2 separate regions of the Homo sapiens genome follow, and region 1 is linked to region 2. The links are contacts of gene promoters, found by promoter capture Hi-C in human tissues and cell types (Jung and others, 2019). All regions are on one chromosome and are shown on one strand. The core of a region is centred on a gene start or on the middle of the fragment in contact, and the rest is flanking DNA. Distances in the headings are between cores, read along the strand shown.

What was found. The method cuts DNA at HindIII sites, captures the fragments that hold promoters and counts their contacts. A contact is called where the count stands out against the background at its distance.
Region 1: the fragment with the promoter of BAG3 here is called in contact with the fragment with the promoter of NANOS1 in region 2 in 1 of the 25 tissues and cell types used here (IMR-90 fibroblasts).

What each region holds. Positions count from the first base shown.
Region 1 is chr10:119,650,003-119,652,811 of GRCh38, reverse strand. It overlaps BAG3 (BAG cochaperone 3), which reads right to left and starts at 1,432. Exons shown (of 4, transcript NM_004281.4): 1 at 957-1,432. The coding sequence starts at 1,136. RefSeq lists a silencer at 1,380-1,679 and enhancers at 1,880-1,959, 1,340-2,294. The HindIII fragment of the contact is 7,134 bases long and covers 1-2,809 here.
Region 2 is chr10:119,028,236-119,031,026 of GRCh38, reverse strand. NANOS1 (nanos C2HC-type zinc finger 1) reads right to left here and starts at 1,313. Exons shown (of 1, transcript NM_199461.4): 1 at 1-1,313. The coding sequence starts at 1,225. The coding sequence ends at 347. LINC03036 (long intergenic non-protein coding RNA 3036) reads left to right here and starts at 1,456. Exons shown (of 4, transcript NR_186540.1): 1 at 1,456-1,682. RefSeq lists silencers at 242-541, 912-1,121, 1,242-1,711 and an enhancer at 1,536-2,036. The HindIII fragment of the contact is 19,263 bases long and covers 1-2,791 here.

The DNA of each region.
Region 1 (2,809 bases), core at 183-2,682, 620 kb before region 2:
TAAGAAGTATATATCCTTGCATGTATGTAAATGAGACATACTTCTGCTGTATTCACAAGAGTATCATTAGTCAGTTATTTGTGTACTGGTAACAAATCCTAAGTATTTTAATACCATAACAAGGCAGGAAGCGAATGCCATTATAAATATACACGTATCATTCTCTTTCTCTCCAGTGTGAGGCAATGTGGTAAGGCAATGGCCAACTGTAAGACAGTCTCAGATCTCTAGTCTAGATCTCTAGAAACTGCTGGGGAGAAGCACACCCTGTTTTTTATTTTACAAATCATACTAGGATACGTTCATATTGAAAGCACTTTCAAACAATAATACAATTTTAATTTAAAATACACACACACACATATATATATGAATGTTTTGACACCAGCCTCCAGAGTCATTGGGTGCCTAACATGGGACAGTAGCCAAGATACCCCTCAACCAAGTTGGAGAACTTGAGCGGTAAAATTCCCCCCAAAACCACCATCCAAGCTTGCGAGTGTCCCCCTCGAGTCCGCGGTCAGCAGGGTGCGCCGCGGGTCCCGGGCCCGGAGGCCGAGCGGGCAGCAGGGGCCACGGTGGGCCGGGGCCTCCGGAGCTGACCAGGCCGGCCGCCCCTCTCCCAGCCCTAGAGCGCGAGGCCAGCGCTGGACACCCGGCCTTCCGCCCTGGAGTCGAGCCGTGGACGGCACCGGAGCCACTGCGGGGTCGCTTCCCGGGCCACCGAATCCCGGGGCCTCCTTTCGCCCCGACGCCTGTCAAGGGCGGGTCCGGAGCGGGGACTCGTCCGGGCGCAGCGGGAGTGTGTGGCGGGGCGCGGAGCCGGTGTCCGCCCGCGAGGGGCCTTCGCCGACCCCCGGGCCCCGCCGCCTCGCGTCCCCCCGGCCCAGCCCACTCCCCGCCGCCTGCCGTCGAGGTGGCGCCACCGACCAGGGCGGGCCGCGGGCCCGGCTCACCTTGGGGCCCTCAGAGGGCACGCGCGGGTCGTTCCACGTAGTGGTGCGGCTGTTGTGGTCCACGAAGAAGGGCCAGCCGGTCTGCGGGTCGATCTTGATCTCCCATCCGGGGGGCAAAGGGTCGCGGTCACCGTTGCCGGACGCCACCTGCATCATGGGCGAGTGGGTGGCGGCGCTCATGCTGGGTTGGGGTCTGCCCGCTGGGGCGCGGGTGCGGGGCGCTGGCTCCGGGCGCCGAGTCTCTGGCCGGGCCGCCGCCGTGGGCCCCTCTCCGCCGCCGACGTGTCCGGGAAGCCGGCGCCGGGCACCTTTATGAATTAAAGGCGGGGGTGACGTGGCCAGAGAGGGGTGGAAGTGTCTGGAAATAGCCTCCTCGCTGCCAGAGGGGAAGGAGGAGATAAAGGGAGGTAGCAACTGGCCGGCTAGAAACTTCTGGTCCAGTCCAGAGAAGTTGGCCGCGGCCCGGGGTTGGATGCGGAGCTCCGCCCTGAGTCATCGGCTATAATCGCGGCGGGCGGGGCAGAGGAGCGGGGGCGGGGCCTCGGCCCGCTCGCCCCTCCCCCACCTCCTCCCGCCCCTCCCCCTTCCGACTCGTGCGCGTGCCCGGGCCGGAGTCGCCGCGGGCGGGCGCGGGCGCGGCTTCGGGGTCCGCCTGCGGGTGGGAAGCCGGACGAGCTGGACTGGGGCCGTCCTCCGTGCGCCCCGGGCGGGTTTCGGCTTTCATAGTCGCTCTCTCCCTCTCCTTTGCGCCGAGTGAGTGTTCCCGGGGCCGGAGCCCGTGCTCCCCGTGCCTGCCGCCCGTCCTTCCTGTACAAACAAAACCATCTCGCCCACCTCCACCCCCTCCCCCATATATGATAGCCGAGGACCCTGAGGGCTGTCCGGGAGGAGCGCGGGGACTCTCATCTGACACCGGAAGGAAGCCAGGGAGAAAATGGAAGTCAGTGCAAACTCACCTGCCTTCCTTTGGAAACTTCAAGAAAAAAAGAGATTGTATCAACTGATGGCTTTTAGTCTCCTAGACTAAAAAGAAAGTTTCGTTGCAGCTTTAAAGATAAATCACATTTTCTTGGGTCTGGATCTTTTTTATGGTAGAGATTGGTTCTTGCTATCTTATATCTTGACCCTGATTTGGGAAGTAAAGACCGAATAACCATGACATTTTTTGTTTGGTTTATTCAATTGCACTTGTAACCTGTCAAAGGAGAAAATTACAACACATTTAAAGATCTTTTTTGTTGTTGTTGTTGTTGATTTTCATTTTTTAACTTTTATTGTTAAAGATCTTATTTGTGATTCTAGAAATTGGGCAACATCTCCATTAAATTAGAATAAGTGCTCCCATGAGCTGAGCAGAAGAGGTTGGTTTTATAGACAGAGAAGGGCTGAAGAAAGCAGAAACAAAGAACCAAGACTGGATTGGTTGTTTCAAAATTACTTTCCTTGTAAGGAGGGGACAGAGAGACAGAATCATAGAAAAATAACTGATGAGGGCTTGCCACCATGGCTCATGCCTATAATGCCAGCACTTTGGAAAGTCAAGACTGGAGGACCTCTTGAGTCCAGGAGTTTGAGACCAGCCTGGACAACACAGTAAGACCCCCATCTCTGCATAAACAAAAAATAAGCCAGGTGCAGTGGCTTATGCCTGTAGTCCCAGCTACTCAGGAGGCTGAGGTGGGAGGCTCATTTGAGCCCAGGAGTTTGAAGCTGCCATGAGCTATGATTTTGCTCTTCATGCCAACCTAAGCGACAGAGCAAGACCCTATCTCTTTAAAAGAAAGAGAGAGAAAGAAAGAGAGAAATGATTGAGAGAAATGTAACATCAGGTTACATACTTCAGATTACTGTAC
Region 2 (2,791 bases), core at 64-2,563:
GAGACAATTTCATACTGATGCGCATCTAAAATAGGTCGACGTATACAGTAAATAAACAGCGCCTCTAAGTTGCCATATTTCAGTTAGTGGAATACACACCCAGCCTTCGCCGTTCTGGATGTGCAAACTAGAAACTGAAGACAAATGGGGATTTCAGCGTCTAGTCCCAATCGTTCAGCACGGAAGTACTCCACACGGTCGGCTGCTTTTCAAAAACCACCAGGACGACGTCCCATGTCGAGCCGACCGCTGAGCCGCACGCCTCCCCACGGCGGGGGCGAGATGGTGCGCAGACCTAGCGGTGCGAGGGGCGGCGGCGACCCTGGGCGGCCGGGAGCCCGGGCCTTCAGCGCAGCTTCTTGCCAGGCGGGCCGTCCCTGGCGCTGCGGGGCGGCGGGCGGGCGGGCGGCGGCGGCACTTTGGAGAGCGGGCAGTACTTGATGGTGTGCGCGTTGTCGCCGCTGGCGCCGCACAGGGGACACGTGTAGCGGCGCAGCACGGGACACAGCACTCGCCCGTCGGGGCCCTTGAGGATATGGGTGGTGTAGAGCGCCATCGCCTCCTTGTTGTTCCGGCAGAACACGCACACCTGCAGCTCGGGCTTCAGCAGCCGGGCGGCCGCCGCCCCGGAGGCCGCGTGCAGCCGGGGCTCGGCCGCCCACGCCGGGGCCCGCTCCTCGCGCGGCGTCGCCTCGCTGGTGGTGGTGGCGGCGGCGGCGGCGGCGGGCGCGCAGCCCAGCAGCACGGCGGCGGCACGACCCGCGAACGGGCTCAGCTCGGCGAAGCGCTCCTCCAGCAGCCCGGCCTCGGCGGGGCCCGCGCACAGCTCCAGCGCGCGCAATTCCAGCGCGCTCCCCAGGTAGCGGCCCCGGGACCCCGGCTCGTCGCTGTCGTCGTCGTCGTCCTCGTCGTAGTCGGGCGGCCCCAGCGCCGGCCCCAGCGCCCCAGGCCCGGCCCCCGTGTGGGGGGAGCAGCAGGACGACGAGGAGGAGGAGGGCGGGGAGCCGCCGCCGCCGTTCCCACCGCGGGCGCAGCCGAAGCGCGGCTCGCCGTCCACCGCTTTGGTGATGAGCGTGGCGAGCCCCAGGTAGTCGTTCCAGGAGCTGAAGGGCTGCGGGTGCGCCGGGCCCGGGGCGCTCACGTAGCGGGCGCTGGGCACGAGCGCCATGGGCGGGGGGGCGCGGCCGCGGCGGGGCGAGCGGGGCGCCCAGGGGAAAGCCTCCATGGGCGGGCTGCGGGCCGCGCGCCGCCTCCCCGCCGCCGGCGCGGGCCGGACGGAAGGGACACGCCGAGCCTGCCCGCCGGCCTGCCGCGGGGTGGGGCCGCCGCGCCGCCTTTTATCGGGCCCACTCCTCCCCGCCCCCCGGCCTCGCCGCCGCGGCCCTGCCCCCTGCGTTCCCCCGCCCCGGCCACCTCGCCCGCGCCCCGGACGGAGGCGGAGCGGAGGCGGGCTGGCTGTGTGCGCGCTCCGCTCCAGCCCGCGCGGCTCCCGCGCCCCGCGCGCTGCGCCAGCCTCGCCAGCTGTCGGGCGGCCTTCATTCCGGGAGGGGGCGGGCGAGGCGCCGCCTCGAGCCGTGGCGCTCATTGGCTGCAGACCAGAGCCCCCCGGCGCCTCGGGCGCCGCTCCGGACGCTGATTGGTGGGAACACGGGGAGGGGGCGTGTTCTCCGCGCAGCTGGGAGGTGAGGAGAAAGTAGGGGAGAGAAGGGCCGGGAAGGGAGGGCCGCTGGGGCCCGCATTCGAGCGCCGGGCCTGGGCTTGGAGCAGGTGACCAGGCCTGGGTCTCCTCGGCCTGGTGGTGAGGCCCCCCGAGGACAGGGGTCAGGGTGGCCACAGGTTTACGCCCCCACCTCCCAGCCTTTAATGGCCCTAGGCCCTAATCCTGAGAATCCCCGCTATCCACCCCCTTCTCACCAACATCAGCATGAAAAGCTGGACGCGTTGGAAGGATGCAGCTCTCCCATCACAGCCGCCCAACCAGCCAGTGGCTTCCGTTTGCACCGCGCGTTGGAGCGCTTTCCCCTGGGCGAAATCCATACAAACCCTGAGGTTCGGGGAGGCTGTGGTTCCTGCCGCGGTAAGAGCGGAGGGACGCAGGACTTTCCGGCTGCACGCAGCAGCCTTCCTCCCAACAGGTGCTCAGGGACTTCAGCCAATGGGTGGCCGATAGCCGGTTACTTAGGTCGGGGTTGGGGCTGGGCCGGAAAATCTCATGGCTGGAGAGCCTAGGACAGTGACTGGGATGTGTGTGTGTGTGTGTACCCCCTCGCCCCAGAGGCCTGAGTCAAAATGTGGGTTGTATGTGCAGTTTGAAAAACAACGTGTATTCAATGTTATATTTTGTCTTCCTTCCTTCCTTCCTTCCTTCCTTCCTTCCTTCCTTCCTTCCTTCCTTCCTTCCTTCTTTCCTTCCTTCTTTCCTTCCTTCCTTCCTTCCTTCTTTCCCTCCTTCCTTTTCTTTCTTTTTTTTTCTTTTCTTTCCGCATCCCGGGTTCAAGCAATTCTCCTGCCTCAGCCTTCCAAGCAGCTGGGATTACAGATGCCCGCCACCATGCCGGGCTAATTTTTTGTATTTTAGTAGAGACGGGGTTTCACTATGTTGGCCAGGCTTGTCTTGAACTCCAGACCTCGCGATCCGCCTGCCTTGGCCTCCCAAAGTGTTGGTGTTACAGGCGTGAGCCACCGCGTCTGGCCTCTTTCTTTCTTTCTCACTCTTTCTTTTTTCTTCTTGATTTTTCTTTTTTCTTTTTTTTTTTTCTTGAGACAGGGTCTCACTATGTTGCCTAGGCTG